7 separate regions of the Homo sapiens genome follow, and regions 2, 3, 4, 5, 6 and 7 are each linked to region 1. The links are contacts of gene promoters, found by promoter capture Hi-C in human tissues and cell types (Jung and others, 2019). All regions are on one chromosome and are shown on one strand. The core of a region is centred on a gene start or on the middle of the fragment in contact, and the rest is flanking DNA. Distances in the headings are between cores, read along the strand shown. Region 1 holds the start of LDLRAP1 (low density lipoprotein receptor adaptor protein 1). Region 2 has its middle 7.3 kb from the start of LINC02793. Region 3 overlaps SLC30A2 (solute carrier family 30 member 2). Region 4 holds the start of EXTL1 (exostosin like glycosyltransferase 1). Region 5 overlaps PAFAH2 (platelet activating factor acetylhydrolase 2). Region 6 has its middle 31 kb from the start of MIR3917. Region 7 has its middle 15 kb from the start of PAQR7.

Region 1 (2,925 bases), core at 218-2,717:
CCTTCTAAAAGAAGCCAGGCTGTGGCTTGGATGTGTGTGTCCTCCCTCTGGCTCCTTTTGGCACAGTTTGAAAGGAAGGCATGGCATCCTAGAGAGTTAGAACAAATCCTTCCAATCCTGGAGTTAGAACATCTGTGCCTGAGCAATTCTGGGGTTCAGACTGCCCTCCGAATGCTCCTAGGAAGCAGCTTGGGGTCAGGGTCAAGGTCATGCAGATTCTTGACCCTGGCAGGTTGGAAGGATCACTAGAGATAGCATTGACTCTCATTCACAGATAAACAAGACTCAGAGAGGGGAAGTACTTGCCTGAGGTCACACAGCAAGTCAGTGTCAGGGGCACGTTCCAGATCATACCATCTGTGAGGCTACCTGGGAAGTTGCGGGGGCATGGGGTGGCCCAGCATGCTCAGGTGGTGCCAGGGAGCAGCCTGGGAGCTACGAGGATGAGTAAAGTGCCTGGCTGGACTTGCTAAAGGCAAATTTTTATATACCGACCCTGCGCCTAACAAGGGTCTATACTGCAAGCTTGTCCAACCTGTGGCCCACTGGCCATGTGAGGTCCAGGACGGCTTTGAATGGAGCCCAACACAAATTGGTAAAGGTTCTTAAAACATTATGAGATTTTTTTGGGCAGGGTGTGGTGGCTCACAGCCATCCCAGCACTTTGGGAGGCTGAGGCGGGCAGATCACTTGAGGTCAGGAGTTCGAGACCAGCCTGGCCAACATGGTAAAACTCCATCTCTATTAATAATACAAAAATTAGCCAGGCATGGTGGTGCATGCCTGTAATCCCAGCTACTCGGGAGGCTGAGGCATGAGAATAGCTTGAACCCGGGAGGTAGAGGTTGCAGTGACCCGAGATCGCACCACTGCACTCCAACCTGGGCAACAGAGTGAAACTCTGTCTCAGGGGAAAAAAAACAATACAGAAAAACAAAAAACATGAGTGTGTGTGTATATATATATATTTCAGCTCATCAGCTGTCGTTAGTGTTAGTGTATTTCATGTGTGGCCCAAGACACTTCTTCTTCCAATGTGGCCTAAGGAAGCCAAAAGTTTGGATATCCCTGGCTTACAGCCTCCACTATTTCCTAAGTCTCCCACTGCCCTGGACATCGCATTGCTTTTGTCCCTGAACAAGATCTTTCACCACTGGAGGAGCCCTCAGTCTCCCCATCTGTAAAATGGTCACTGGAAATCCTAGGCCGCTGCTCTCAGGCCCTCAGGCCCCTACGGGGTGGGGATTGGGGAAAAGGAGGAAAGCGGGGGCGTCTAGGGCTTGCGATTTGCTATCTTCTGGCGCCTTCGGGCGGCCTCGGAAACTCTTGGTGCCTGGACCTGGAGCCTGGACAGGGACCGGGCGGGGCGAGACCGGCCGTCGGGGGCGCGGCCCGTCTGGGGGCGGGGCCTGTCCTCTCTCGCCCCGCCCCGTCGGACGCCGCGGCGGAGCTGGCGCTGGGAGGGGAGGAGCGCGCAGCCCGCGCGCCGCAGGGCCGGGCGGAAAGTTTTTCCTGACGGAGTTTTGGCTGCGGCAGCGGCGGCGGCGGCCGGAGCGGGCCATGGACGCGCTCAAGTCGGCGGGGCGGGCGCTGATCCGGAGCCCCAGCTTGGCCAAGCAGAGCTGGGGGGGCGGTGGCCGGCACCGCAGTGAGTGTGCGCGCGTCAGCCGGGCCGGGCCGGGATCGGGCAGAGGCGCGCGGGGCCTCCGCGGGCGCCCGGAGTGCGGCCAAGTTGGGCAGAGGCGGGGCCTCACCGGCGCTCCGGTCCCGGCGTGGCCCTTTCCCGGCCCTGCGGGGCAGGGGGTCGGCCGGGGTCAAGTTGTGCACCTACTCGCCGGCCGCTCGATGCCGCTGCGAGGAGGGGCAGCGCTGAGGAAGGAGCCCGAGCTCGGGGTCCTCAGGTGCAGCCGGCATGGGGTGGGGTGCAGGTTGGGAGAAGAGGCCCCCGCCACCCGCGGCACCTCCCGCCCTGCTGTCCTGGCCAGCTAGGGGGAGGCAGGCGCTCGTCGTCGGTGCCTAGGGGAGGAGGAGAGGGCGCAGGGGCTTGGGAAGACGCCCCCGTCCCGCACCCCTGCGCCCCAGCCAGCAGCTGCGGCGGTCAGGAGCCCACTGGCCCGTTCTCCCGCCCCCTGCCCGACCCACCGGGCCAACTTTTGACTCCGGGTGCCCAGACACCCATCCAGGTGTGAGCCCGGGGTCGCAGGTACGTACTTGAAATTGGGAACGAGGCCCCGCCTGGGGTGCCTCGGGAGAGCCCCACATCAGGCGATCTAGACCCTTACGTCCCTTCCTCTAGCCGGGTCCAGGTGGCAAGCCTGGCGTCCCGACTATTTTTGAAACCTGTTTTCTCTCGCACCTTTCCCCTCGGGCTTCCAGAGTCCCTTGGGTGCCCAGGCAAACGACAGACTCGCCGCCACCTCTCCCTGGGGCGTCTGGGAGGCTGGGAGGGGCCTCCCCCCCTTTCTCTCCCCCAGTCTCTGATTACGCTCAGGGAACTTGTCACCTGGCACCTTCCCCTGAAGCCAGAAGACCCAGCCTAGCGCAGGTCTCGTTGTTTGGGAGGGAGAAGAGAGTGGCTTGCCTGGGGTCACACACACCTTCCTGCTGGTTTTGGAGCCAGAGCCCAGGACTGCTGCACACTCCCACCTCCCTGCCACCTACTTCGGGCCACAGCTTCTCCCCTCATCAGGAAACAACTGACAGTACAGCACCCCCTCATCCCATCCCCTCTTGGCCTTACAGGGCTCTGCCAGGGGAGCCCGAGCTCCCTGGTCCAAGGAGTGCCAGCGTGTCTGGGCCTAGAGGGCCCGCCTCCCTCCTCCTCTGGCCCCACTCTGTTGTTCAGCTGTGGCCGCCTCCCAGCTGAGACTGGCATTGGCATTGGGAATGTGGGGTGGTGCCTGCTGGTGGGGGGTGGGGTCAGAG
Region 2 (2,925 bases), core at 273-2,772, 510 kb before region 1:
AAAAATTAATGCAGGAAATCATATGATACATAAAGTAGGCATTTTATTGAACGTAACACGTGCGCGTGTACTTTTATGAGATGATCTTCTGATGCAGGGCCAAGGCTGTCTTTGAGACTGAGGCCCCCAGCTGGTGTCCTACCTTGTTTTTCTTGCATAAAACCAACCTGTGCAGCAGCGTTTATGGCTCTCATTAGGAGTCCTTTAAAGCGGAGTGGGACCTTAGAGATGCTTGTGAAGCCATCTGAGCACAGACTCCCTAGACTCCCTCTGGATTTTTAATAATCACCCCCTCCCTCCAGTTTTAGTCTACACCTAATTCAATGAAAGTTTGTGACGGATTTTAACTATTGTCTTCCCCAGTCTTTTATGGCTGTCTTGCCCACACCTCATTTGGCAGCACTTTTTTTTTTTCTTCCGTTGACAACTCGCCTATAACTGGGCCTTTGCAAAGTCCTTTCTTGGTTTTCTGTGACACGACTCTCTTTCCCATTCACATTCTGGTCTCCCTGGTTCGGCCACTACAGCCAGCAGCTGCAGGTCTGGGAAGAAGCCTCACTGAGTCAGAGGAGCCGCCTAGGTGGGAATAGCAGCGGCCGGCCTGCCTGGAACATTCAGGAAGCTGTGGCATCTACTAGCCTCTCTTTCAAAGGACAGGGAGAGTGTTTGTTAATCCAGAGTGGGTTGAAGGGAGGTCTTGTAAGGCACTTTCTATGGTTTGATTCCCATTCTACAGGTGAGGAAACTGAGGTACATGAAGTCACTTCCCCAAGGCCACCCTAGGCTCGTCTAGCTGGGATCTGAACCCAGGCCTGCCTGGCTCCACGTTCTTCATCCTCACACCCTGCTACCTCCTTGTTGCACCAGAGGGGGTCCCTGTGCAACCCAGGTCTGGCTTTCCTGCTGGAAGGACTTAAAGGATCTCTCTTGCATGTGGAATTTGAGGTGCATTTAAACATTGTCCACACTAAGCCTGGTACGGAAGATGGCCACCGATCTTGGGGCAAGGTCTTCTCCCTTGGTCCTGTGTCTCCACGCCCAGGCCTGGTATGCAGCAGGTGCTCATGAGTGTCAGGAGCTGGACAGGAACAGTCAGGATGCCTTTTGTGTTTCTGCCAGTGTCGCGAGCACCTGCTCTGGGGCATGCACCAGGCTGGGTTCCAGGATCTAACAGGAAGGAGAAGCTGGTCCCATCACTGGCCTCAGAGGTCAGTGTCTAGCAGGGTCATTCCATGTCCCCTCGTCCAAGCCTCCTCTGGTCAGACTTCCTCTGAGGGGACAGGGGGTTGTTAAATATGCAAAGGATGTGGATTTTGGAGTCAGACACATCTGAGCTCCAATTACAGCTCTGCCACTTATTGGCTGTGCGTGTAACCTCAGACCGATGGCCACCTCTCAGCCTCGGTACAAACGACAATGCCTCATTCTAGGCCCTTGGTGGGCAGACCCCCAGCAGGGCTAGGAGTCCCTTGAGCCCCAGGGAGGAGGAAGCCCGTAGGCAGGAGGGGTTCGGCTGTGGACAGGGGACCTGGCAGTCAGCTCCCAGAAGCTTCCGACCGTTGGTGGCTGTGGAGAGCGAAGCGGTATGCAGGGGAAATGAAAAGAGGCCAGACGTCGTCCAGGCCGCAGCACGCAAGGGCACCTCACTCCGCTCCTTCGTTCCCTCCCAGGCTCAGAAAGGGGAAGGCAGCCCAGACCAGGAAGTGGCCAGCTTCTGATGGCCACCGCATGGGGACCGCACCAGCCCCAGCAGGAAGTGGCTGGCCCCTTCCCACCCCCTGCCGAGCCAGGCCCTCCTGCACTCACACTTGGGAACCAGCCAGCCTGAAAGTCCCTGTTCTCAGGTTCTGGGACCAGCACTGCATTCTTAGAAGCCTGGGTCCGGCCGGGGCCCCTGATGTTGTGGCTGGGGGTCCACAGACCTGGGTTCTCAGCCCCGCTTTGCCACTTCCTCGCCCTGAAGCCTCAGCCAAGTTGCTTCCCCGTCTGGACCTGTTCCTCGTCTGTTAAATGGGGTGATCACCCACCACCCGCCGCCTCAGAGGGACAGTGAAAATGGGGAGTCCTGAAAGGCCAGAGCTGGAAAGTCCCCGAAGAGTCCTTACAGAGGAGGCAGGTGGGAAAGGAGGGAGATTGTCCCCGGTCCCACAGCCAGTGGGTAGCAGGGCCGTGAGGTTCTGGAAAGAGCACTGCATTGGGAGGTAGCACTTGGCCCAAGCCTCACTCAGCTCCTTCCTAGCTATGGGACCTTGGCCAAGTCAACCAAGGCCCCTGGGCCTTTTCCTACAAGACAGCAAACCTCGTCTCCCAGGGCTCCTGGGGCGCGCAGATGCTCCGTACTGTGTTGTGAACAGGAAGGGCTTCTTGCTGGAGGTAGACTGGAACTCAGATCTCAAGGGTTCCCGTTCTTTGCTGCCCCTCCCCTGAACTCCATATGCAAGGAGTGGGGTCTGGCACCTCCTGAGGGGAGGACTCCTCTTGCTTGCCTCTACCCCTGCCTCCCCCCATTGGGTGAGAGGTGGCAAATCTCTTTCCTTGATTCCACTGAGTCACTGGAGGCCGTGCTCTTGGAGGAGCTGCGTGTGAAGTCACCTCTCCCACATCAGCAGCCAGAGACGCCATTGCCACTGACACTGTGGCACCCAAACCCCCGTCTACTGCAGGCTGGCAGAGCCCTCCACAGACCCCGGAGCCCAAACAGCCTTTGTGGTGCAGCCAAGGGGTAAGGGGGAGGCTGGGCGGGGCCCGGAGCAGCCCTCCAGCAGCAGGCTTCCTGATGCTGTTGGCACCACTGCCCAGTCCCAGCTCAGGCTTCTGGAGAGTGGGCCTCAGGATGGCAGAGCTGGCAGAGGAGGTAGAGGCTAGCCCATCGTGGGGACAGAATGAGAGTCCATGGACCTAAAGAAGAGCTGGGAACCGCAAATC
Region 3 (2,925 bases), core at 236-2,735, 500 kb after region 1:
GGAGGCTGGGAAGAGCTCCATTCCTGGAGTGGGGCAGAGGTCAGGAGGGGGACCTGGTTTACAACACAGCTGGGGTAGGCAAAGTCCTGGCTGGGCCTGGGGGACACTCAGTCCAGCCACCTGCAGGTCCTGTTCATGCCCCAGTTGGTGCCTGGCTGAGCAGTCAGTCTGAGGGGCCCTGGCATGCCTGACAGTCCTTCATGTCCTCCGAGTAGTCCTCGATCTGGATGGTCACGGTGTGGAAGTGGAACTTCCCTTGGAGGCGGCTGCTGGCTGTCTTCAGCACAGCCTGGGCGTCTGTATTCTGAGCTGGGGGCCGAGAGGACACAGCGGGGGAAGCCATTTACTCTGGCCCTTTGGAACCATCAGGAGCCCAAATCTCATACCCCATCCCCAGCAGAACAGGATGGGGGACCATGAACATGGAGAAGCCCCCAGATTCCATTCCTCTGCCAGGTAGCCTCCCAGCCCAGACCTGGCTCATGCCTGAAAGAGCTGGTAAAGCACTGGCCTTAAGGCCAGGAATCTGCCACCTACTGCCATATACTAGCTGTAAAAGCCTGGGCAAGTAACTTTACCACCCAACCCCAGCCTCAGTTTCTTCATGGATAAATGAGATTGTGCTGATCAGATGGAATAATGCGTATCAAGTACTCAGCATGAGGCTGGGCTTGATGCATGGGCACTGTGAGCATCTGGGGTCACCTGGACCCGTTGGGGATGGCACTAGGCCTTTGGCTGCCTGTCTCCCACCCCACCCTGAGTGTCCCAAGCACTCACCAATGGCGATGTGGACAGACAGAACAGGCTGGGCCACCGTCAGTGCCCAGATATGCAGGCTGTGCAGGGCTTCTACCCCCTCCACCGACAGCAGCAGATCACGAACAGCTGTGAAGTCAACGCCCTTGGGGGTCCCTGAGGACGGCAAGGACAGGGGAAACTAAAGGAAACTACCCCTCCCACGCCTGCCCATTGGTGCAGGGCTGGCTCCTGATCCTCAGGTGTCATCCCCTCAAAGAAGACCTCTTTGGCCTGCAGGTCTGAGGCTGCCTTCACCTCCCAAGGTCTCTGCCCTATCACTCTGTTGTATTTCCTCTCCACTCTTAACACTGAAATTATTTATGAATGTACTTATTGTCAGTTTCTCCCTCTAAAATGGACACTCCATGAGGGCAGGACAGTCTCCTTTGATTACCACAGTATCCTTGGTGCCTAAAACAGCACCTACTCCATAGTAGGTGCTCAATAAATATATTTTTTGGTTTTTTTTGAGACGGAATCTTGCTCTGTCACCCAGGCTGGAGTGCAGTGGCGTGATCTTGGCTCACTGCAACCTCTGCCTCCCTGGTTCAAGCAATTATCCTGCCTCAGCCTCCTGAGTAGCTGGGACTACAGGCGCATGCCACCACGCCCGGCTAATTTTTGTATTTTTGGTAGAGACAGGGTTTCACTGTGTTAGCCAGGCTGGTCTTGAACTCCTGACCTCAGGTAATCTGCCTGCCTCGGCCTCCCACAGTGCTGGGATTACAGGTGTGAGCCACCGCACCTGGCCAATAAATATATTTTTGAATGGAAAGAAGGAAAGAACAGATCCTGAGAATCCTTGGACCCACCCAGGGCACGATCATCATCTTCATCATTATCGCTTTCATCTGGGTTAGCATATTCTTGGAGAAAAAGCTCTGACCTGCAGCCAAATACTGCTAAGCCCAGGCCAGCATCCTACTCCATTCCAGACTGACCCTGACCACGCAGAGGCCTATGACCCTGGCCCAAGACCCCAGGCCTAGAGCATAAGAAAGCCAAGGTGCAGGGCCAGGTGTGGTGGCTCACATCTGTAACTCCAGCACTTTGAGAGGCCGAAGTGAGATGATTGCTTGAGCCCAAAAGTTCGAGACCAGCCAGGGCAACATAGTGAGACCCCCCCCCCATCTCTACAAACATTTAAAAGTTAGCCAGACATGGTGGCATGCGCCTGTGGTCCCAGCTACTTGGGAGGCTGAGGCAGGAGGATTACTTGAGCCTAGGAGGTCAAGGCTGCGGTGAGCCTTGGTGGCACCACTGCACTCTAGCTTGGATGACAGAGCAAGACCCTGTTTCAAAAAAAAGAAAAAAGAAAAAAAAAAGGTAATTCAGGGCAGACCAGATCATTCTCCACCACTGACCGTTCTCCAACCCCACAAAGCACAGCCATGTCCCCACAGGGTGTGGCATTGTTTGGTCCCTGAGATGTAGGAAAGGCCTGCGCTGCAGTGGATTCAGTAGCTTTGTCCAAGGCTGACTGTCCTTCTCTGAGCCTCAGTCTGCCCCTCTGTGCAATGAGAAGCATAATCCTCACCCCCTCTCTCTTCCTGAGAGAAGGCAGCCAGAGCCTGGGGAAGTGTATAGGGGAGGGCTGGAGAGCTCCAGATGCTACAGATGTCCCCCAGAAGCCACCTGACTAGGCAGAGGAGGCACCCTTAGGGGTAGGGGGAAGGGAAGACTCGGGCTGGGGGACGGTTCCAGGAACTGCCACACCTGAAAGCCCAGGCTCTATGTCAAGATCAGCCCAGGGGCCCCAGGAGGTTTTCCAGCCTATGCCGGGGCTCCGGATCCTGGCTCCCCGCCCATGTGCTAGGATGCCCCAGACACACACATACCCTATTTGAGCTGATTAGCGCTTGAGAGCCAAGAGCAAAAAGGGAGCCACAAAGCCCAGGTTACCTTCCATCAACACCAGGATCACATCTCTCAGGATGGTCAAGGTTGTCCCCAGGACCAGGATGGAGAAGACGAAGGTGCAGATGGGGTCTACATACTTGTATTCTGGCTGCAGGAAGACAGGAAGGCAGACCTGGAGTTCACCATCTAACACCTCAGCTTCCCTTCTCCCCTCCCACCCAGCACTGCTGGGGAGAGGTGCTCTCTCTGCTGGGTGGGCATGAG
Region 4 (2,925 bases), core at 188-2,687, 480 kb after region 1:
GAGTGTCAGCTATGATTACTCTTACTCAGGGTTGTGTTCCTGGCCTAGCTCAGAACCTGGCCCATATTCAACACTCATAAGTGTTTGTTAGATGAATGGATGACTGTGTATGGGGATAGAGGGATGAAGGAATGACATGAGGACCTAGACGGGGGCTCTAACCCAGCCTGCGGAGCATTGGAGAAGCTTCTTGTGGGGAGGGAGCTTTCAGCTGACTCCTGCAGGATGAGGAGTTGGCTGGGCACAGTGAAAGGGGGGGCGTGCGAAGCAGCCAGTGGCCTTTGTGGATGCCTCTCAGTGTGGGAGGACTGAGTTATGCAGGAACTGCAGTTCATCACCGAGTGGCTGAGCCATTAGTGCCAAGAGGCAAGTGTCCCCTTTGTGGGCCATTTTTAGGACTCTCACACTGGCTGCTCACTGAGGGCAAAACATCCCACGGTGGCTCCCTGGTCTGATCAGCAGCCCTCCAAGATCAAGGGGAGGCACGCAGGGGAAAGGAGGCCACCACTTGTTGAGGGACCTCAGGGGACAGGCCTGCGTCAACCTGGCAACCCATTCCTGGCTGACATTATGCCCATCCCAGAGATAAGGGGACAGAGGCCCAACACCCCCGAGGCAGTCAGGGGAAGAGGCAGAACCCACTCAAGTCTGTCCACTCCCTGTGCCTTCCCTCATCAGCCCAGAACTCCTCATGGCCAGAGTGTGTCTCCCCCGTCACCCCAGAGATTCCTCAGTGGCTGACATCACCCACTCCTGACTCCCCTCACAGGGCACTGACCGGGGAAATCCCTCCATGGGGCCTGGACTATGGAAGAGTCAAGTGCAGGAAGAACTTTCCATAAGGACTGGAGCAAAAGGCTGGGAATTGGAGGAGATTGGGGGTGGGGCTGCTGAAGGAGGAGAGACCAATCCTGGGGACAGTTGGGGGCACCTTACCCAATTCCTCCACCCCCGCCCCTTAACTCCTCACTTGTCTCACCTGTTGACCTTCTCATGTGCCGATTCAGAGATTCCTCACACTCAGGCTCTGACCTCCACTGACTCTGATGGCCCACAGCAGGTGCAGGGTCTAGTTTTTCTCCAGCCACAGGGCCCACAGCTGGGGTGACCAACGACCAGGAGCTCAGGATTGAAATCCCCACCCTGCCACTTCTTAGCTGGGTCACCTTAGGAAGAGTTCATCCCCTCTCTGAGCTTTCCTCATCTGTAAGAAATGACAGGTAAATCTCTGCCTTGGAGGGTGGCTGGAGGACTGAGAGACAGAGGCTGTGATAACTCATGGCCAGCTGTGAGTTGCAGTACTTGCTGGTTGGATTAGCAATTGAGGAAACTGGTTTGGAAGGGGTTAAATGGAGACCCTGCCTCCCAGCCAGGAGCGAATCAGGGCTGGGAGGGGAGGAGCCAGGCTGCTGCTAAGGAAAGAGATCAGGATGGGCCAGTTGCCGACTGGAGAGGGATGGGAGGAGATACCATAGGGTTTGGGGGGCTTGGCACAGCGGCCCTGGCCTCTGCACTGTGATAGCTCCAAGCCAGATGGTGCAAGGCAGCTGCTGGGCTGCGGGGAAGAGGGGCTGCACTTCCTGAGCTGGTGCAGCGGCAGAGTGGATAAGGATCAGGACCCCGAGCCCTCCTGGCCCTCCAAGGCAGGGGGACACCGGCTGCACCCAGGCTGTGACCTCAGCTGACGCCGATGATCCACATGGGATGCAGGGTCTAATTTTAGCTCCAGCCACAGGGGCCACAGCCCAGAAGCGTCTGCCAGCGGGCACAGGGGCAGCCAGGGCTGCTCAGGCAAGGGGAGGAGTGGGAAGACCAGCCCAGCTCCCTCCAGCCTGTCCCTGGCCAAGCCGCCTCCTGTGGGAGCTCTGACTGGTCCCCATGGCCTGGCAGACAGCCCTCCTCTCAGTTGAGGGCAAGGTCAAGGGGTGCAGCCAGGAGGGCAGGGGGACACGGCCCTGCATTCTGGACAGGGGTTGCGTCAGCCAGAGCAGTGCCCAGGGGCAGGGGTCCCTGCTGGGAGGGAAAAGGCTGGCTTGGTTGTCCAAAGGCCGAGAAGGCAGAGTCCTGAGAGCAGGGGGGCCAGGCCAGCAAGCTGGGTCCCACCTGGCCTCCTCCTGCCTGGCTGGTGACTCACTATCTGACCTTAGACAGGCGGCCTGGTCTCGATGGGCCTCAGTCTTCCCATCTGTACAATGACAGCACAGGACTAGCAGGTCGGTCCCAGCTCTGGTCTCCCGCCCCAGGCCCTGCTCTTCCTGCTTGCTGGCAGAGGCCTCCCAGCTTCCCTAGCCCTGACTGTGGGTGGCCACATGCAGTCGTGGAGGAGAAGAAAGTCCCTGTGGCTGGCACTGTCAGCCTCCTGGCTCCTGCTTGTCCTGCTGGGAGGCTTCTCCCTTCTCCGCCTGGCATTGCCTCCCAGACCTCGGCCCGGGGCTTCCCAAGGCTGGCCCCGCTGGCTGGATGCAGAGCTCCTGCAGAGCTTCTCCCAGCCTGGAGAGCTCCCAGAAGATGCCGTTTCACCTCCTCAAGCCCCTCATGGTGGCAGCTGCAACTGGGAATCTTGCTTTGATACCTCAAAGTGCAGGGGCGATGGCCTTAAGGTATTCGTGTACCCAGCGGTTGGAACCATCTCTGAGACTCATCGCAGGATCCTGGCTTCCATTGAGGGCTCTCGCTTCTACACATTCAGCCCTGCTGGGGCCTGCCTCCTCCTCCTCCTCAGCCTGGACGCCCAGACTGGAGAGTGCAGCTCAATGCCTCTGCAATGGAACAGGGGCAGGAACCATCTGGTCCTCCGTCTCCACCCGGCTCCCTGCCCCAGGACCTTCCAGCTGGGACAGGCTATGGTGGCTGAGGCCAGCCCCACGGTGGACTCCTTCCGGCCCGGCTTTGATGTGGCCCTCCCTTTTCTCCCTGAAGCCCACC
Region 5 (2,925 bases), core at 280-2,779, 450 kb after region 1:
TCAGACTTGTGATCAGTAAGTCACGGTGCCGGCAGAAGCAGTGCAAACAGAAGAAAGGGAGCTGGGGACACTTACCTGGAGATTCTGACCCTCCATCACATCCCCACAGCCTACGAGGTGGGGTCCTGTGACAGGTGGAAAGCCCACAGACTGGTTGACCCCCATTTCATCACCGGGTGAATCAAATGACTTGCCGGAGCTGAACTTGCTGGCTGGATGGGGGAACACAGAACAGCAGCCGCTTGCTGGTTTCCTCTCGGCTTCCTGTTGCTGAAATGTGTTATCTGTTACCCTGTCCACCCCTCCTTAGCACCTCATCCTCCCTGCCGTCGCTCATTAAATCTTGCACCTACTACTTTGCTACATTGCCTTTGCCAAGGTTGGGGGTTGTTTTTTATTTTGCTAGGGTGAGGAGATGGCTGGAAGACGAAAGAGAGCCATCCATACTCCTTACAGCCCATTAACGTATGTTTATCCAGCAGCTACTGCTGCAGAGACTGTCACACAGACCTTGCTCTCCTGAGGCTAATAGTAACCACTAAGATCCATTATTTACGGTTAGCACTGTACTGACCTCTTTATAGACACTATACACATTGCATCATTTCATTGTCTCAACCACTCTCTGAGGTAGGTACTTTTTTTTTTGAGACGGAGTCTCGCTCTGTTGCTAGGCTGGAGTGCAGTGGCATGATCTTGCTCGCTGCAACCTCCGACTCCCTGGTTCAAGCGATTCTCCTGCCTCAGCCTCCTGAGTAGCTGGGATTACAGGCACGTGCCACCATGCCCAGCTAATTTTTTGTTTAATTTTTAGTAGAGACGGGGTTTCGCCATGTTGGCCAGGATGGTCTTGATCTCCTGACCTCGTGATCTACCCACTTTGGCCTCCCAAAGTGCTGGGATTACAGGCGTGAGCCACCGCGCCTGGCCTGAGGTAGGTACTATTAAGACCTTGTTTTGGCCAGGCACGGTGGCTCACGCCTGTAATCCAAGCACTTTGGGAGGTCGAGGCGGGCAGATCACCTGAGGTCAGGAGTTCAAGACCAGCCTGGCCAACATGGCGAAACCCCGTCTCTACTAAAAATACAAAAATTAGCCGGGTGCAGTGGCAGGCACCTATAGTCCCAGCTACTCAGGAAGCTGAGGCAAGAGAATCGCTTGAACCTGGGAGGCAGAGGTTGCAGTGAGCCGAGATTGCACCACTGCACTCCAGCCTGGGTGACAGAGTGAGACCCTGTCTCAAAAAACAAACAAACAAACAAAAGACCCTGTTTTACAGATGAGGAAACTAAGGCATAAAGAGGTTGAATAACCTTCCCAAGTTACCCAGTGGCAAACCCATCTCTGCCTAATCCGGAAGCTAAGTTCTTAACCATTACTGATCCTGCTCAGGGGGAGATTCAGTTATACAGATGCAAAGTTACTGAACTAAGCTTTTTCTTAAAACCGTTTGATTTTTTTGAGAGACAGGGTCTTGCTATGTTGTCCAGGCTGGTCTCAAACTCCTGGGCTCAAACAATACACCTGCCTAGGCCTCCCAAGTAGCTGGGATTACAGGTAAGAGCCACCACACCCAGCTTTTAAACTACTGAATATGGGGTAGCACTTATGCTGGGCCTTTAAAGATGAGGAAGTTGAGAGGCAGGGGAGGAGGAAGAAAGCACTTATAGAAAAAATCCTAAGAGGAAAAAAAGCAGAGGTAGGGAAAAGTATGATGTGGGCAGTAGATCAAACAGATGCTTTCAGCATGACAGGCATGCACACTCCTGACTAGATAACATTCCTACGGCTCAGCTGCTTCCTAAACTGGTGCCAGTGCTCCCCTAACCCTCTTCAGTTTCATCATCTCCAACACCACCATCATCATCATACTTACTCTGTGCCAGGAACTATGTTTAGTGCTTTTCACATATTATTTTATTTAATTCTTTCAACAGTCCTCTGAGATACGTATTATTATCTCATTTTACAGATGAGGAAACAGATGCTTGACAAAGGCAATTTACCCAATAACATATGGCGAGCAGAGCCAGAATTCGATCATGGACAATGTGGTTGTAACATGAGAATGTCAAACTTCCCAGTGTCCCTTGCCTTGTGATTTGGGTGGGGCTGACCCCTCCTTAACCTCCGGAGTTGAGCCTTAATTAACCGGAGCCAATCAGTCCTTCTTATTCTCCGGTCAGTATTTGGATGAAAAGTGCGCGTATGGCATTAGGTTGGTCCAATAGGCGTAAAACCCGGGACTTTGGTATGACGGTTGAGGGGAGAAAAGTTATTTCCTGTGTTGGACTAGTGTGATGTGCAGATGTCACCTGTCAAGTGGCCTTGAACCACAGCAGCCACTTTTGCCACCTTGAGGATGAAGATACCCATGGTGGATGGGAAAACCAGAAGAATCACAGAGAAATAGAGGCCCATTTGTGAAGACATTAAGAATCCACAGATTAGACCATACCTGAAACCTGACCCACTCCTAGACTTTCTAGTTACATGAGTCAGTAAGTTCCCTTTCTTGGTTAAACCAACTGAAGTTAGATTTCTTTTGGTTGTAACCAAAAGCATCTAAATGGATACACACTGAGTCTGGGGTCCACATGTTAATGATTAAATTATTCTGCTTCCTTTAAGATGCTCTGGGAGGGATTCAGGAGTTCCAGTCAAAGCATGTCTGGGTAAGAAGAGACCTAAGGGAGCATTTCCGTCAATCCCCTCCACAATCGTTTTCCCCTTCTCCGCGTACATACACGTGCTTTACCAGGGAAGACACCAAGGTCCGGAGAGATTAAGTGAGCTGCTCAGAGTCACAAGCAGAACGATGATAACAACACACAGTCTCCTGGTTGTCAGCTGCCACTTGTCTGGTCTCAACAATCCTAACATCATTCTATTTAACTTTGAAAGATAAGAAATTATTTTCTTTCT
Region 6 (2,925 bases), core at 183-2,682, 390 kb after region 1:
AGGCAGGCGTGGTGGCACGTACCTGTAATCCCAGCTACTCAGGAGGCTGAGGCAGGAGAATCGCTTGAACCTGGGAGGCAGAGGTTGCAGTGAGCCAAGATCATGCTACCGCACTCCAGCCTGGGCGACAGAGCGAGACTCCATCTCAAAAACAAGAAAAACAAGTGTCGTGAGACAGACCAGCTTCCAGGCCAACAAGATTGATCTGTAACTCATTGGAGCATCTTCACACACCTAAAGTAGCAATGCACTGATGGAACAGGGGTTAGCAAACCTTGGAAGCCCAGAAATAGTGTTACAGAGGCAAATATAGGCTGTCCCCTTTCAAGCAGCGCTAAGGAGGGGTGCCCTGCCCGAGAACCCGTGTGCCTGTCTCTGGTAGCAGTGGTTTAAGTCCTGCTATGGAGATGTGCACAGCAGGGCTTACCCTGGTATCTTTAACATTGGGATCATGTCTCTTAATTTCCCTTGCTTCACATCACAAGTCAATCTTCCAATTAGAATGTGGCTTTGCCTGTGAAGGGCTGTAGGGAGAGGAAACTCAGGCTAGGGGCAGGGGTCTTGGATCCTCTGGTTACATTTCTCATTGTACATTAGTTGGCCGGCACTCCAGGTTTGTGGAAAGCTCTGTGAGTATGGCTAAGCCCTGTTCCTCAGCAGCACGCATATCAGTTTTCTATGCCCGCAGAGCTCCTTGGGTGATGGCCAGGAAACCCTAATGTGCTGAGATTGAGAGCTCTTACTTCTTATTGAATTTTCTTATGAGTAATTTCTCTCATAGGAATCTACTCAAAGGAAAAACTAAAAGTTCAGAAGTACACGTGTACTTACAAAAGATGTCCAGTGTAGTGGTTTTTAAACACCTATTATTATTATATTTATTTATTTATTTTTGAGACAGGGCCTCTCTCTGTTGCCCAGGCTGGAGTGCAATGGCGTGATCTAAGCTCACTGCAACCTCTGCCTCCTGGGTTCAAGCAATTCTCCTGCCTCAGCCTACTGAGTAGCTGGGATTACAGGTGTGTGCCACCACACCTGGCTAATTTTTGTATTTTTAGTAGAGGCAGGGTTTCGCCATGTTGGCCAGGCTGGTCTCGAACTCCTGACCTCAAGTGATCTGCCTGTCTCGGCCTCCCAAAGTGCTGGGATTACAGGCGTGAGCCACCGTGCCCGGCCTATTATTATTTTTGAGACAGGGTCTTGATTTGTTGTCTAGGCTGGAGCTCAGTGGCATGATCACAGCTCACTGCAGCCTCGACCTCCTGGGCTCAAGCAATCATTCCATTTCAGCCCTCTGAGTAGATGGGACCTGGCTGGGACCACAGGCCCATGCCACCATGCCCAGCTAATTTTTAAATTTTTTGTAGAGATGGGGTCTTACTGTGTTGCCCAGGCTGGTCTCAAACTCCTGGGCTTAAGCAATCCTCCTGCCTTGGTATCCCAAAGTGCTGAAATTATAGGTATGAGCCACAGCACATGGCCAAAACTTTTTATTTTGAATTAATTTGTAGATTAACACGCAGTTGTAAGAAATAATATTGGGAGGCCGGGCGCAGTGGCTCACACCTGTAATCCCAGCACTTTGAGAGGCCAAGGCAGGTGGATCACCTGAAGTCGGGAGTTTGAGACCAGCCTGACCAACATGGAGAAACCCCGTCTCTACTAAAAATACAAAATTAGGCTGGGCGCAGTGGCTCACGCCTGTAATCCCAGCACTTTGGGAGGCCGAGACAGGTGGATCATGAGGTCAGGAGATCGAGACCATCCTGGCTAACACAGTGAAACCTCGTCTCTACTAAAAATACAAAAAAATTAGCCAGGCATGGTGGCGGGTGCCTGTAGTCCCAACTGTTCGGGAGGCTGAGGCAGGAGAATGGCGTGAACCTGGGAGGCGGAGCTTGCAGTGAGCCGAGATAGCACCACTGCACTCCAGCCTGGGCGACAGAGCAAGACTCCGTCTTAAAAAAAAAAAAAAAATTAATCAGGCGCAGTAGTGCATGCCCATAATCCCAGCTACTTGGGAGGATGAGGCAGGAGAATCACTTGAACCCAGGAGTCAGAGGTTGCAGTGAGCCGAGATCGTGCCGTTGTACTCCAGCCTGGGCAACAAGAGAGAGACTCTGTCTCAAAAAAAAAAAAAAAAAAAAAGAGAAAAGAAATAATATTGGGAGATCCCATATACCCTTCACCCAGTTTTCCCCAAATATAACATCTTGCATAATAACAATCAGATAATTGACATTCATATAATCCACCCACCTTATTCAGATTTCACTACTGTTCAAGTACGCATTTGTCTGTGTGTGTGTGTGTGTGTGTGTGTGTGTGTATTTAGTTCAACCAAATTTTGTCACATGTAGATTTGTGGAACCACCCTACCATAGTCATGACACAGAACAGTTCCATTACAAATAATAATGTTAACTTTTACAGGAAAAAAATAAAAATAACCTCAGCATCCAATACTGGGAAGTTGGTTACATAAATTGTGTTACAGTTATAAAGTAAGATATTTAGTCATATAAATGTTATGTACATGAACATTAAAAATGTTTATAAAGATTGTTTAATATGGAAAAGTGCTTATGAGGTACATACACACACACACACACATATATATCTATATATCTATATATCTATATATCTATATATCTATATATCTATATATATTTTTTTTTTGACATGGAGTCTCTTGTTGCCCAGCTGGAGTGCAGTGGCACCATCTTGGCTCACTGCAACTTCTGCTTCCCAGGTTCAAGCAATCCTCCTGCTTCAGCCTCCAGAGTAGCTGGGATTACAGGTGCCCGCCACAATGCCCAGCTAATTTTTGCATTTTTGTAGAGACGGGATTTCACCATGTTGGCCAGGCTGGTCTTGAACTCCTGACCTCAGGTGATCCTCCTACCTCAGCCTCCCGAAGCGCTG
Region 7 (2,925 bases), core at 230-2,729, 350 kb after region 1:
ATCTGCAGTTAGACATGTTTTATTGGGAATACATTTTTCCTCTCTGAATCTGTTATGAATGCGTTGGTTGGCTGGGTTCAGTAATAAATATGTGAGACCTTTCATTTCAAACAACAAAAACAACAAAATAAAACACTTTTCAGGTTTCTGTTATAAGGGAGGAGAGACTCAGTCCTGGGAGAGCAGCCAGCAAGGTCTGCCATGATGGCCAAATGAAACCATTGTTCCCCTCCATCCATCCCCCCACACCTACTCCTTCTCCAGGCTTGTTTGAGTAGATGGCACCCCCCTTCACTCAGCTCCCCAAGGGAAAAGCCCAAGAGTCAGCCCTCACTGCATGCCCACATCCAGTCCAACAGCTCCTGTTATCTTCACCATGACCTAGATCCTGAATCTAACCATGACCCTCCACCTCACTGTCCAAGCCACTCTCATCTCTCTCCCTTGTGCACTCCGGCTCTCCTTACCGTCCATTCTCCTCCTGGTGGCTGAAGAATTCTTTACACATGTAATCTGATCACATCACTCCCCCCTTAAAGCCCTTCAAAACTGCATCATGCAGACTATAACCAAACCCTCGCCCTGGCCCCAGGCTACACAGCTGGACCCTGAGCACCTCCTTGTATGGGGTCCCCTTGCCCACCTCATCCAGCCAAGAGGGCCTCACTTAGGCTCCTTCCTCACACCTGCTAGTTCCTGCCATCAGGCCTTGGCACTAGCAGTTCCCTTTGCCAGGAACACACTGCACCTGCCCACAGTCATTGTCTGTTATATCACCCTTTTCATCCTCACAGCACTCATCCTAATCTCTTTTATAGTCTGTCTTCTCCCCCCAGGATGTAAACAAGGGCAGAGACCTTGTCTGCCTTGTCCATCGCTGTATCCTCAGGACCTAACACTGCCTGGTAAGTAGGAGGACTGGAGGTGTATTCATTCAATGAATACGTGGATGGAGAGGCTTGTTTCGGGTGGTCTCTTAGGGAACCTTCTAGCTCTTGAAGATCTAAAGAGAAAGCAGAAGAAGGAGCTTGGGGAAGGGGACGCAACACATGAGGTATGTCCGAAACTGGACTAACATCCCAGCCCTCTTCCCTGATTGCCCAGTGTAGGAGATCAGTCAGAGTGGTGGGAGAAACTACAGGGAAAAGGAGCAGGCCTTCTGAAAGGTCAGAGGGCTCTGCAAAGCTCCAGGAGAGAACAGCTGAAGGCAGCTGTTCCATAACCCTGAGGCAGAGGGCAAGGAGTAGGTACAAGGGAGTGTGGGGGAATTTATCTTAAACAGGCTTGTTTACTTATGTTGACCAGAAACTGACCTTTGATTATCTGCACATGAAGTTCCCTGAAAGGGGAAGAATAAATGTTAATTACCTACAGGTTGTGTTGGCTCCAGGTTTCCGGCATTGTGCCTGCACGGAATAAAAGCAAGCAGCCCCAGCTTCTCGGGGCTGCTCTCTGGCCACTAGAGCCAGGTAGTCATCTAGCTGCTGTTACACTGCATACCTGTCTGACTACTCATTTCATCCGTAGGTCGGCCAGGGTCTACGGGACACACCCAGCAGCCCAGGAGATCCTGCTAGGCGAGCGTATCCAGGGACTGAGTCAGAGACCATTTGGAAAAAACTGGAAAGAAGAGGTGAGCACAGGCACTGCCATATTGAGCCCCATGAATTCAAGCCAGAATGGGACCCCCGCCATCTGGAAAATGGCATTGAGAGAGCAAGCAGCCTGCTGGCTCTGCCTCTAATTAGCAGTGGATGAGTGACCTGACCCTCTCTGAACCTCAGTTTCCTCATCTATAAAATGGGATAAAAAAGAATAGTATTTACTTCACAAGGTTGTTTTAAGGATTCAATCGGGGCCGGGCACAGCAGCTCATGTCTGTAATCCCAGCACTTTGGGAGGCCGAGGTGGCTGGATCACCTGAGGTCAGGAGTTCAAGACCAGCCTGACCAACATGGTGAAACCCCATCTCTACTAAAAATACAAAAATTTGCCGGGCATGGTGGCAGGCACCTGTAATCCCAGCTGCAGGAGGCTAAGGCAGGATAATTGCTTGAACCCAGGAGGCAGAGGTTGCAGTGAGCCGAGATCATGCCATTGCACTCCAGCTTGGGCAACAAGAGCAAAACTCCATCTTAAAAAAAAAAAAAAAATTCAGATGGATTATGTAAAATGCCTATACAATGCACGGCAAATTGTTTAAGAGCTCAAACAACTTCAGTCATGTAAGAGAAAGAAAAGAGAGGAGGGAGAAATGATGGAGCCAGGTGACACAAAAGCAGATGTCCCAGTCCCCTGGGGGCAGCCCAGTCAGATATGCTGGGAGTTTGGACCTCCTAGAAAAGACACAGAACTTTAAGGCATCTGAACTTTAGCTTCCCCTTCTCAAAATGGACTTCTGAGTTCTTCTGGTCCAACCCCTTCGTTTTACAAACGTTCTGCATCTTGGAAAGAAAGGCCAAAGACCCAGAGAGTTGGCAGAGGCAAGTACAGAGAGGCGGCCAGTGGGGACAGGGCTGTGGAGGTGGGCCAGTGCAGCAGGCTGTGAGCCCCCTGCTCTCCTCATTCTGGGGAAGAGGATCTGCCTTCATCTGCACCCCGCCACCCCCCACCACCAACACACACAATGAGGGGGAAATGGCAGGCTGGGGAGACCCATGAAGCTGGCAGGAGGAACACTGGGCAGGGAGGGGCCAGCCCTGTGCTGGGCATTTCAGCACTGGGCTCAATACTCATGCAGCCTGCGAGGGGGTCTCTGCAGTTTACAGATGAGGGTATGGGTGCCCAAGCCCCCTGAAAAGCTCTTAGAGCCAGAACCGGAATACTATTCTGTGTGACTCTAAAAATCTCTGCCCATTCTTATGCTCACTAAAGTCTGAGAAAAATTTAAAAATTAAAATTAAAAATAAATTAGGCCAGGTGCTG

What was found. The method cuts DNA at HindIII sites, captures the fragments that hold promoters and counts their contacts. A contact is called where the count stands out against the background at its distance.
Region 2: a fragment that was not itself captured here is called in contact with the fragment with the promoter of LDLRAP1 in region 1 in 1 of the 25 tissues and cell types used here (spleen).
Region 3: a fragment that was not itself captured here is called in contact with the fragment with the promoter of LDLRAP1 in region 1 in 1 of the 25 tissues and cell types used here (heart left ventricle).
Region 4: the fragment with the promoter of EXTL1 here is called in contact with the fragment with the promoter of LDLRAP1 in region 1 in 1 of the 25 tissues and cell types used here (heart left ventricle).
Region 5: a fragment that was not itself captured here is called in contact with the fragment with the promoter of LDLRAP1 in region 1 in 3 of the 25 tissues and cell types used here (adrenal gland, heart right ventricle and hippocampus).
Region 6: a contact is called between a fragment that was not itself captured here and the fragment with the promoter of LDLRAP1 in region 1, in 2 of the 25 tissues and cell types used here (pancreas and stomach).
Region 7: a fragment that was not itself captured here is called in contact with the fragment with the promoter of LDLRAP1 in region 1 in 1 of the 25 tissues and cell types used here (small bowel).

What each region holds. Positions count from the first base shown.
Region 1 is chr1:25,542,139-25,545,063 of GRCh38, forward strand. It overlaps LDLRAP1 (low density lipoprotein receptor adaptor protein 1), which reads left to right and starts at 1,468. Exons shown (of 9, transcript NM_015627.3): 1 at 1,468-1,648. The coding sequence starts at 1,561. RefSeq lists an enhancer at 1,138-1,197 and silencers at 1,298-1,757, 1,788-1,967. The HindIII fragment of the contact is 11,973 bases long and covers 1-2,925 here.
Region 2 is chr1:25,032,439-25,035,363 of GRCh38, forward strand. No RefSeq gene overlaps it. Among named protein-coding and RNA genes, the nearest start is that of LINC02793, 7.3 kb to the right of the region's middle. RefSeq lists enhancers at 234-283, 1,284-1,343, 2,024-2,083. The HindIII fragment of the contact is 6,561 bases long and covers 1-2,925 here.
Region 3 is chr1:26,038,997-26,041,921 of GRCh38, forward strand. It overlaps SLC30A2 (solute carrier family 30 member 2), which reads right to left. Exons shown (of 8, transcript NM_001004434.3): 6 at 2,704-2,809; 7 at 781-915; 8 at 1-309. The coding sequence ends at 164. Among named protein-coding and RNA genes, the nearest start is that of SLC30A2, 5.7 kb to the right of the region's middle. The HindIII fragment of the contact is 5,249 bases long and covers 1-2,925 here.
Region 4 is chr1:26,020,338-26,023,262 of GRCh38, forward strand. It overlaps EXTL1 (exostosin like glycosyltransferase 1), which reads left to right and starts at 1,438. Exons shown (of 11, transcript NM_004455.3): 1 at 1,438-2,925. The coding sequence starts at 2,310. The HindIII fragment of the contact is 12,554 bases long and covers 1-2,449 here.
Region 5 is chr1:25,990,652-25,993,576 of GRCh38, forward strand. PAFAH2 (platelet activating factor acetylhydrolase 2) reads right to left here. Exons shown (of 11, transcript NM_000437.4): 2 at 76-212. The coding sequence starts at 165. Among named protein-coding and RNA genes, the nearest start is that of PAFAH2, 5.9 kb to the right of the region's middle. RefSeq lists an enhancer at 2,920-2,925. The HindIII fragment of the contact is 7,134 bases long and covers 1-2,925 here.
Region 6 is chr1:25,936,470-25,939,394 of GRCh38, forward strand. No RefSeq gene overlaps it. Among named protein-coding and RNA genes, the nearest start is that of MIR3917, 31 kb to the left of the region's middle. The HindIII fragment of the contact is 4,681 bases long and covers 1-2,925 here.
Region 7 is chr1:25,889,195-25,892,119 of GRCh38, forward strand. It overlaps a transcript of STMN1 not described here and the pseudogene RPL39P7. Among named protein-coding and RNA genes, the nearest start is that of PAQR7, 15 kb to the left of the region's middle. RefSeq lists enhancers at 717-1,916, 1,424-1,927, 1,928-2,431 and a silencer at 1,104-1,398. The HindIII fragment of the contact is 6,813 bases long and covers 1-2,925 here.